2 separate regions of the Homo sapiens genome follow, and region 2 is linked to region 1. The links are contacts of gene promoters, found by promoter capture Hi-C in human tissues and cell types (Jung and others, 2019). All regions are on one chromosome and are shown on one strand. Each heading gives the region's core, a stretch centred on a gene start or on the middle of the fragment in contact. The rest is flanking DNA. Distances are from core to core; before and after follow the strand shown. Region 1 holds the start of MC2R (melanocortin 2 receptor). Region 2 has its middle 150 kb from the start of ZNF519.

Region 1 (5,675 bases), core at 2,787-5,286:
TAAAATTTGCTGGGTATCTTTGGACGAGTGCCTGGAAGACTTCTCTGCCTTACCTAGCTCCTATTCGCCCCACCTTTAAAAAGTGGCCGAGTCCAGCCCAATCAGACCCCAGGGCCACCATGAGTGCAGCGGGTAGCTTTGGCTTCTGGACCTTGCTCTGGAGTCACTGGCTTTGCGCCATCTATGACAGGGTCTCCATCCTAGGGTCTGGGGGATGTTAACTGGGAAAAAGGAGATTGGGGCATATGAGGAGGGCAGGAGGAAGAAAGATTTAAGATCTTTTGGGGGCTTTAATCCAAGTAATCACTTAAAGAATTGGCAGTTTTTAGCACCTCTAGGATCCAATTTTAGGTTATATGTCATTGGAAATCCAAAAGATACAGGAAACACCGTACTGCCTATGAACATCTAGCTGAGGAGGTAAGACATGCACAGCTGAGAAAGAGGACAGGTGAGCCTTTGGTCACTTGCAAATTGGGGTCAGAACTGCTCCATGGTGTGGATGGCATGGAAAAGAATTGGCTTCACTTACGAGTGCTTTAGGTAATTCATTCTGTACTGTGTTGGGCCCACAATGCATGTTCAGCAATTTTACTTAATACTCAACCAGGTAAAACAGCAGATTCCAGGATACCTCAGCACATCCTTACAATTCTGCACTTTAAGGGCAATTTGATTTTGCCATGGTTTCTCTTGCAATGTTAAAGGTTGGAGACAGGGCAGAGTGAAAGGTATTCTCTCTTAATGCTCCAGTTACACATAAAGGGTAGGTGTTCCTATTTCCTGCTCCCCTGCCTATATTATAGATAAGAAAACGGAGGCTCAGGGAGGTTGGGTTACTTGCTTAAGGTCACCCAGCTGCGAATCTGCCTCATTCCAAGGTCTGTGCTCGCTTGGTTATTCCAAAGAGCCTGAGAGGCTGAGTGTTTGGAAGCAGGACAAGCCTAGCTCTGAAACAGGTATGGGTAGGAGGACCGGGTCAGGTTGGGCCAAGAGCTGTGGGAGGAGCTGGGAACTGAGGGGCTCAGGACTCTGAGGCTGTTTTGGTGCTAAATAAAACAAAATAACAACATAGCACCATAATAAAACTTGTAGATTATTATTAATCAATTAATCAATACTCTGTTGAAATAGGAAAAATTCAAGGACAGATGAATTTCTACGTTGTTTTCTGCTCCCGGACCATCCCAACTGCTTTGCTAGGGCCCAGTCACTGTCTCCAGCTGAAGTCAGTTTTCCTTGAACTTACTGATGTTGATCTTACAGAGTTATAAGTTACGCTTATCACTGTGAAGACTGGCTGCAGCCAGCAGAGCTCGCTATGGTAGGCAATGGCTCATCTGAATCCAGCGCACATCTTGTTTTGAATTCCGCATAGGCTCAATTATGAGAGGCCTTCAAGGGAGCCTTATTTTGGGGGTGGCTTTATTCTTTTTCCCCATGCCGGGCACAGGCAGAAGCATCTCTCGGTGTGATCATCTTGCAGGCCGCTGGGCAGGTTTACAGCTTTTCCGACACTTCACAGAGAACTGCTGCTTACAGTATAATTTCTTTTTTAATATACACAAGACTGGAAATTAGGCATGAATGACAATGTGATCACATCTTAGGACGAGCGAAGGAAAGTCCCGAGAATGGAAGCTTTTGCAGGAGCTCACAGCTAGGGAGGCATGAAGCCCAGGCTGGAGTGTTCTGGTTGGAAATCAGTGTGATGCTCAGCTCCCTGCACAGCCTCACCTGGACCACCACCTTCCACCCGCTCACATCTCCCGTCCTCTGAGCTTCACTGCTCATGGCAGGCTTCCTCCACGGTGCCTTCCTGCCAGTGTGACCCACTCGGACCTTTCCCTGCCACGGCTGTGCTGCTCACACAAACGCTTGCTGCCCCCAGGTTTTGATGCTGGGACACCTACTAGGTTGATTAGTCTCTGTAGTTTGCACATGTTGTTCTCCCACCAAGTCAGGCTCTGTGCGTTACCCATGCTGCTAGCACAGCGCTTGGCACACGCATATTTTGAGTTGAGAACTTACTTTAAAACCATCTTCCAAATTTTGTACCCTGGCGGCTCATAGTCAGAGAACAGAGAAGTTAAGACTTTAGGACTCCACCACACTTTAAGGCCCACTGGGTGGGTCTGCACCAGCGCTTGCCTGTCTGTTCACACGTTCTCTCTCCCTGGGCCTGGACACGTCCTTCCTCACTTCTCACACTCAGCACTGTGTCCTTGCCCAAGTACAGACTCTCTTCCACTGCCCCCGCATCCCAAGGGAGCCCAGGATTGCTGCCCGTCTATGCACCTGTAGCTGTTTGTTCTTATTTCTACAACGGCATTATTCACATGAAAACCCTGCAGATGGATCTGAGTTCCTTAGGATAAGACCTGCCCTGACCATGTCTGAGGCTGAGCCCTGCAGACAACCTGGCCCACAGCAATTATATTTGCCTAATGAAGGCAAGGAATGTGGCTTACACAGACAAGAAAGCTCTCATTAAAATGTATTAGACACTAAGGATTCCATAGGAAACATACCTGGGATCATTAACAAGGTAAAGAATAGGATTTTTTTTTTTTTTTAAGATGTCTTAAGTTGCTCTGAGGCAGTGAGAGGGCAATTTGCTGCTGAGCAAAAACCTCCTCTGCCAGAGATTCAGGATCCACTGAGAAGTCAGGATGGCTTTGGAGCTTATCTACCCCATTACCCTGGTTCATGCCCTCCTCCACCCCTGCCGCGGCCTAAGCGGTGTCCCAAAGGCAGGGTGAGGGCTCCCGTCTCCCTGCTCCCACAGCTCTTTGTGGGTGTGTGTCCTGTCTGGGAGCTAGTGTGAAGTGTTGTCTCAGTGTGCGCTGTCCTCAGCGCCGGGGCTCCAGGAGGCTCCACTCTGACTTAGGCTTGCAACAAGGCCCAGCACATAAGGGTTCGGTACAGCTTGATCTAGGCATGAATGTGTGAGCAGAGCCTGTGACCACCGCTTCACTCCCACTCCGGGGATGGGGTGGGGAGGGCATGTGAGGAGCACTCCTCCTTCTGATCTGCTCAAGGCTGTACTCTCTGGACCCCTTTGTACCCCTTTCCCATTCCTATCCCTTTTGGACTTTTTGCATGCATGTATGTATGTATGTTTACAAGTGTGCACGTGTATGTGTGTATATGTGTGTGTATGAGTGTGTGTGTGTAAGTGAAGAATGGGGACAGTTATCTGAAGGCAGCTTAGACAAACTGAAATATGAAGAAGAGCTGTTTAATCGAATGCCTGGGCCTCTTTTCTAGGTAACATGTGCCCCCCGACAGAGCCAGCCAAAGGAAGGTGTGAGCCCCTCATGATGGCAGTGACTGCATGCTTTCTGGGTGCAAACACTTTGCAGGAGTATGTGATAATCAGTATGCTTTTAGTTATTGTTTATCCTGCACCCCGTGTTGCTGCCTAGGAAGGTGGAGGCTGACTGAGCTAGTGGTTGAGAAAGGCACAGAAAGTGTGCGTGCATCTCCCAGAACTGTAACGTCACACGTGTGGATGGTGGAGTTGCTTAGACACCAATGCCTGAGGTTCAGGAAGCTGCCGCATGCCCACGTCTTTGTGGCGCTAAAACCCCCGCACTCTTACACCTAGACAAGCTGATCAGGTGAAGGGGCTAACTCCAGAAGTGATAATAGAAGCATGATTTGTTTCACCCCTAATTCTATTAGGAAAAAACTGGCTGTAGTCCTTGAATAGAGCTCAATGACAATTTGAAGAGTACTAGAGAAGCCAATAAATTCATTAATAGGGAAGATTGTTTTAGCTAGACAAAAAGGTAATAGCCTTCATTGTAGTAGTTTAATTAGAAAAATAATAAACTCCCTTAGGAAGGATGAAAGCCCATAATTAAAAAGATGAGCTATTTGGAGGAATTCTGAATAGTACCTCTTCTCAGATTTGTTCCTAGCTGCTCTATTCATGGTCCAAAAGCACTTAGCAAGCTGAGGAATTAGTGGAAAATGTACTTACCTTCAGCTCTGAAGCAGGAACTTTCTGGGCAAAATGAATGAGAAGGAATGAGCTCGGAGAGAAAAGCAAGCAAGTGGACCTTGGGCCGGGAAGGGCCGGAACACATGCATCACCGGAGATACAGCTAGATTGTTATCATTACCTTGAATAAATGTCATCCCACATGAACTGTGCATTTCTGGTAATGTGAAGTTAGAGAAATGGAAAGACACAGGCAGATGAAGACATAATTTCCATGAGCTCAGCTAGTCAAGGTTACTTCCAATGTTTATGACAATGTTTCTAGCAGATTATGGAATTGTCATCTTGCTCTTTTTAAATGCCACTTTAGAGTTGCATTTATTTCCAAAAAGAACTAAGGAATTAAATAAATCAGGTTTTTGAGAAAATGGTTTTGGAAGAATTTGTTTTAAAACTTCTAGCAAACTTCTTGATATATCTTGCAAATATTTGGCTCATTAGTTTCATTAAGAAGAAGGGAATAGCCCCATTATCCCTATTTCACAAGACTAAACAATGAGAGTGAGGGAACTGTGTGCTCAAGTGCACATATGACGCATGGGTCCAGACAAGAAAAAAACCCTGTGTTCTGCCAATGCTTCTCCGTCCAAAAACTTCACAGAAACCGCCATAGATAAGAGCCATCATTCAAAGCAAAATTCTTCCATTTTAGGGTGCAATGCTGTGTGTTTTCTGCCTGCCGGGGCCTGCAGGGAAGGGCTACTGTTGGTGTCAGTCACAGCAACAGGAATGTTGAAGTGTGGAATTGGGCCAAGTTTCCAGATGGTCCTGGGTTTTTGGGGCTGGGGCCAAACCAGTGGCTGTTTCTGAAATGTGAGCTTCCGCCCCAAGCTAAAAAGTGTTCACACGTGGGTGGTCTGGAAAAGACCAAAGAGAGAGACCTGAGTTGAATTTGCCAGGCGGGTAAACACAATTTTATAAAGTGGCTTTTCCTGGCCTGTCACTGAGGCAAAGCGTGTTGTCCCCAGGAACTCATGGACCCAGGATCATCCCAGACTTCGACTGTTTCTGAGTAGGTGTGTGCCTCCGCAACATGCCCTGCAGCTGAAACCCGGCGTTCCACAGGCCTCTTTCCCTCTTCAGTCATGTAGTTGAGATAACAGAGAAAAGCAAGGCATTGCCTCCAGAAAGCTACTGTATTATCTGGAAAAGTAGAGACAACTCGTCCTTAGCCCTTGTACTTGCAGAAGCAGAGGCCCTTTGTCAGAGATCTGTGGATCTGATTAGCTGATTGGGAAAACCGGTGGCCAGCCCTGGGGAGTGGGACATCAGGCAGGCTGCAGACAATGGGAACACTGTCTGGAGGAGGCGAGCCTCGGCCAGTCCCCTGGGTGGGACCTGGGCCACTCTGATTGGGAGGGACAGGGAGAGACTTCCAGCAGGGGGAAGGTTGCCTAGGGGTTTGGCTAAGCCCTGCAAAGAGAGTAGCTATTGCTATTTTAGTTCTTCCATTTTGGGGGCTCATCTCTCTCCAATTTTTAGAGAAAAGGGGGCAAAAATCTCTTGGAAGGAGCAGAGTAGAAATGACAGAGTTTAGAACCAGAAGACACGCGGTCAGAGTTCTGAGTGCCAGGCCTCTAGGACTCCATTGCCTGGTGTAAAGCGGGCTGTTGTGAGAATTCAGACTAGGTTTGTAACAGTGCTCAGGGAAATCTAAAACCATATG
Region 2 (5,393 bases), core at 2,685-5,184, 370 kb after region 1:
AGCCCCCACACTGGATGCCAGCATCATGCAGACCCCAGATTTATAGACCCACCAAGAACTATGTACCCTCTGTGGGTAAAAACTACAGGCAGTCAACACCAGCACAGCCCATGAGGGCAGCTGTGGGGACTGAACACTGCAAAGCCACAGGTAGAGAAATGCCCAAGGCCTTGGGAACCCCGCCCTCATACCCTTGTGTCCTGGATGTCGAACAAGGATTAAAAAAGGATGACTTTGGAGCTGTAGGTTTGAATAACTGGCCGGCTGGGTTTTGGATTTTCATGGGACCTGTAAGTCCCGTTTGTGTTTTGTTCTTCTCTCGGCAAAAATCTTCCTTTTGGTTGGGAATTCTTACTCAATGTCTGGACAATCATACCTTGGAAGTAGTTAACTTGCTTTGTATATCAGAGGCTCAGGAGCAGAAGGGACTGCATCTTTGTCTCAGATGAGACTTTGGGCTCCAGACATTTAAGTGAATGCTGGAATGAGTTACGGCCTTGGGGGTCTTAGCCAAGACGATTGGGAAAAGTCATTGAAGGCATTTCATAGCTTCACTTCACAGTACTAATTTTCTGTATGATCATAACAAAAAGGGGTTTGATTGGCTCATGGTTCTGCAGGCTGTAAAAAAAAAGCATAGTGGTTGATGAATAGTAAGTAAGGCATCATTGTATTTTGCAAAGTGAGAAGGACATGAGATTTGTGGGGCAGGGACAGAATAATAAGATTTGGCTGTGTGTCCCTGTGGAAACTCATGTGGCATTGTAATCAGAAATGTTAAAAGTGGGACCAGGTGGAAGGTGATTTAATCGTGGAGGGCACTGGGTGTTGGAAAGTGGGGATTTTGGAGAATGGGTGGTTTATGGTGGGGGTGAGGGGTGAAAAGTGGGGGTGGGGGGAGGATCCCTCACAGATAGTTAAACACCATCTCCTTAATCCTTTCCTCATGATGGTGAGTTCTCGTGATGATTTTGGAGCCATGAGAGTGAATGGATACTGGCCTCCTGGGTTTTGGACTTGCATTGGCCCTGTGATCCCATTTGTGTTGTTTTCCTGGCAAACATCTCACCTTTGGATTGAGAAAGCTTACACAATGCCTGTACCATCATTGTACCTTGAAAGAAAAGAACTCCCTTTTAAATTCAGGAACTTATAGGCAAAAGGAACTGTAGCCTTTTCTCACGTGAGATGTTGAACTTTTTACATTTGAATTAATGCTGAAATGACTTAAGACTTTCAGCAGCTTTTGCAAAGGCATGACTGTATTTTACTCTGTGAGAAGGATGTGATATTCGGGGGATCAGGGTCAGAATAATATGGTTTAGCTGTGTGTCCCTACCTAAACTCACATGTAATTGTAATCCCGAATGTTGCAGGTGGGGCGTGGTGGGAGGTGATTTATTCATGGATGGGAGACGGGTGGGGTTGGAATTAAAAACTGGTGGGTAAGGTGGGGAGGGTAAGCTGGCTGTAGGGTGGCGTGTAGCAGAAGGGGAGTAGCATGCCGCAGAGGCAGAGGCTCATGGAAAAACTCTACTGAGGCAGTGCACCTGTGGCTTTGCAGGGTTTAGCACCTGTAGCTGCTCTCATGAGCTGGGCTGATGTTGAGTGCCTGTAGCTTTTCCATATTGGGGGTGTGAGCTGTTGGTGGGTCTATGACTCTTGGGTCTGGAGGATGGTGGCATGGGGGCTCCAAGCCCACATTTTCCTGCTGCACTGTCCTAGTAGAGGTTTTCCAAGAGGATCTGCCTCTGCCTCAGGCTTCTGCTTGGAAACAGTGGGTGGTGGATATGGGATAGTGGGCGGATCCTTCACCAACAGTGAAGCACCATCTTCTTGATGCTGATCTCCTGATACTGAGCTCTCATGAGATCTAGTTGTATAACAGGATGTCGCACCTCTTTCCTCTCTCTGTCTTGCTTCTACTCCTGCCATATGAAACATTTCACTGCTGCTTGGCCTTCTGGTATAATTGGGAGGCTTCCTGAGTCCTCCTATAAGCAAAAACCACTATGCTTTCTTTACAGCCTGAAGAACTGTGAGTCAATTACACCTCTTTTCTTTATGTAGATACAGAAAATTAATGCTGTGAAGTAAAGCTATGAAATGAATTCTAGGCCTTTCCCCCAATCTCTTGGCTATTAGCACTGAGCTTTTTTCAATGCAGATATTGGAGGCCATCTTGATGTTTCCCCCTGATAATGGACTTTTCTTCTTTTACCACATTGCCAGGCTGCAACAAAGATAGCTGACAGTGTAGAAGCAGATTCCAAATTGGGTAATGGCCAGAGGTTCGAGAGTTTGGAGAGCTTGGAAGAAGACAGGAAGATGAGGGAAAGTTTGGACCGTTGCAGAGACTTGTTAAATAGTTGTGATTAAAAGGCTGACAGAAGGATGGACAGTGAAGGCCAGGTTTGTAAGGTCTCAGATGAAAATGAGGAACTTACTGGGAAGAGGAGCCAAGGTTTTTTTGTTTTGCCTTAGCAAAGTAATTGGCTACACAGTGACCCTTCCCAGGAGATCTGTGAAACTGAACTTGAGGATGATGATTTAGGGTGTATCTGGTGGAATGAACTTCTAAGCAGCAAACCTCAAGAGCTGTGCTGCCTACATCGAACAGCCTGTGCTCCTATGTGTGATCAAAGAAATGACCATAAGTTGGAACTTATATTTAAATGAGAAGCAGAGATTCAACATTTGGGAAATTTGTAATCTGGTCAAAAAGAAAAGCTGATTTTCAGGGGAAAATCAAGAAGGCCTCGGATATTTGCATAAAAAGGATCCCAGTGCTAATGATTCAAAACAATGGGAAAAAGGCCTTGAAGGCATTTCAGAGACCTTTGTAGAAGACCTTGTTGTCAAGGGCCCTAGGGCTTAGGAGAAAAGAATAGTTTCCTGGCCCAGCCCCATGGCTCCACTGCTGTGTACAGCCTCAGGACACTGCTGCCTGCATCCCTGCAGCTCCATCTCCAGCTCCAGCTATGGATGAAAGATGCACAGGTACAGCTTGTGTCACTGCTTCAGAGGATGCAAGCTCCAAGCCTTGGTGGCTTCCACATAGTGTCAAGCCAGCAGGTGCATAAAGCAGGGACTAGAAGCTTCAGAGCCTTCATCTAGACTGCAGAGGATATATTGGAAAGCCTGAGTGTCCAGCCAGAAGCTTTTCCAAGAGGCAGAGCCTCATGGTAAAACTCTACTGGGGCAGTACAGAAGAATATAGGGTTGGAGTCCCCATACAGGGAGGCACCATTTTCCAGACCCCAGTTTCATAGACCCACCAACTGCTTGCACCCTCAGTGTTGAAAAGCTACAGGCATTCAACACCAGGCTAGCCAATGAGGGCAGCTGTGGGGGAAAGATTCTGCAATGCCACAGGGGCAGAGCTGCCCAAGGCCTTGGGATCCCAGCTGTCACACCACCCTGTGCTCTGGATGTGGACATAGATTCCAAAAAGATGATTTGGAGCTATATGATGGAATGACTGGCCTGCTGGGTGTTTGACTTGCAGGGAGTTTCTAAGTCCCATCTGTGTTTTGTGCTTCTTTCTGGCAAATTTCTTCTTTTTGGCTGGGAATGCTTACCCAATACCTGTACAACCATTGTACCTTGGAAGTGGTTAACTTGCTTTGTATTTCAGAGGCTCGGGGCAAAAGATATGGCAGCCTTGTCTCAGAAGAGACTTTGGGCTTTGGATATTTGAGTAAATGCTGGGATGAGTTAAGACTTGGGGGACTGTAGGGAAGGCATCATTGCATTTTGCAATGTGAGAAAGACATGAACTTTGGGGGACCAGGGACAGAATAATATGTTTTGGCTCTGTGTCTCTACCAAAACTCATGTGGAATTTTAATGGGAAATGCTAAAGGTGGGGGCTGGTGGAAGGTGATTTAATCATGGTGGAGAGTGGAGGTTGGATGGTTGGGAGGGTGGGGAGTGTTGGGGGGATTGTGGGGTGGGGTGGGTTAGGGGGATTGTGGTGGTGGGGAGGTGGGGGATTGGGGGGTGGGAAGGCTTGGGGCAATTGTGGTGGGGTTGGGGGTGAAAGGCAGGGGTGGGGGCCGATCCTTCACAAATGGACATTTGAGTAAATGCTGGAATGAGTTCAGACATTGGGGGACTGTAGAGAATGCATCATTGTATTTTGCAGTATGAGAAGGATATGAGATTGGGGGGCCAAAGGGAGAATAATATGATTTGGCTCTGTGTCCCTACCAAAACACATGTGGGATTGTAATGGGGAATGTTAAATGTGGGGCTTGGTAGAAGGTGATTTAATCATGGTAGAGAATGAGGATTGGAAGGCAGATGTGGGAGAATGGAGGTTCATGGTGTGGGTGAGGGTGAAACATGGGGATGGGTGGTAGATCCTTCACAAATGGTTAAATACTATCTCCTTAATGCAGTCTGTGTGATAGTGAGTTCTCATGATAAATGAATGCTGTCCTGCTGGGTTTTGGACTCGGATTGGGCCTGTGTCCCATTTGTGTTATTTTTCTGGGAAAATCTTCCCTTTGGTTTGAGAAAGCTTACCCAGTGCCTGTGCCATCATTGTAACTTGAAAGAAAAGAATTGTCTTTTACATTCAGGAACTCATAGGCAGAAGAGATTGCAGCCTTCTCTTGGTTGAGACTTGAATTTACTACATTTGAGTTACTGCTGGAGTGAGTTAAGACATTTTGAAACTTTTGAAAATGCATGTTTGTATTTTTTTGTGTGAGAAGGACATGAGATGTGGGGGTGTCAGGGTCAGAGTAATATGGTTTGGCTGTGTTTCCCTACAAATCTCATGGGGAATTGTAATCCTGACTGTTGTAGGTGGGGCCTAGTGGGAGGCGATTTAACCACAAAGGGCAGAGTGGTAGGGGTGAAGAGAAAACAAGTGGGTAGGGTGGGGAGGAATAGGCTGGCAGTAGCGTGGTGAGAGGGTGGTGGACCGTAGGAAGGGGGAGTAGCCTGCTGCCGAGGCAGAGCTCATGGAAAACCTCTAAACAAGGGCAGTGCACCTGTGGCTTTGAAGGCTTTAGCCCCCATGTTTGCTCTCATGGGTTGGGCTGGTGTTGAGTGCCTGTAGCTTTTCCATACTGAGAGTACAAGCTGCTGGTGGGTCTATGAATCTGGGGTCTGGAGGTTGGTGACCTCCTGTGTGGGGCCTCCAGGCCCATATATTTTTTCTGCACTGCCGTAGCAGAGGTTTTCCTAGTGGCTCTGCCTCTGCCTGAGGCTTCTGCCTGGAAACAGTGGGGGGTGGGGATGGTAGGGGGCAGATCTTTCACCAATGGTTAAGCAACATCTTCTTGATGCTGACCTTGTGATAGTGAGTTCTCAGGAAATCTGGTTGTATAACAGGTTTATACAACATGTGGCACCTTTTTCCTCTCTCTGTCTTGTTTCTA

Evidence for each region. The method cuts DNA at HindIII sites, captures the fragments that hold promoters and counts their contacts. A contact is called where the count stands out against the background at its distance.
Region 2: a fragment that was not itself captured here is called in contact with the fragment with the promoter of MC2R in region 1 in 2 of the 25 tissues and cell types used here (lymphoblastoid cells and spleen).

What each region holds. Positions count from the first base shown.
Region 1 is chr18:13,911,500-13,917,174 of GRCh38, forward strand. MC2R (melanocortin 2 receptor) reads right to left here and starts at 4,037. Exons shown (of 2, transcript NM_000529.2): 1 at 3,989-4,037. The HindIII fragment of the contact is 21,573 bases long and covers 1-5,675 here.
Region 2 is chr18:14,280,365-14,285,757 of GRCh38, forward strand. No RefSeq gene overlaps it. Among named protein-coding and RNA genes, the nearest start is that of ZNF519, 150 kb to the left of the region's middle. The HindIII fragment of the contact is 3,687 bases long and covers 2,092-5,393 here.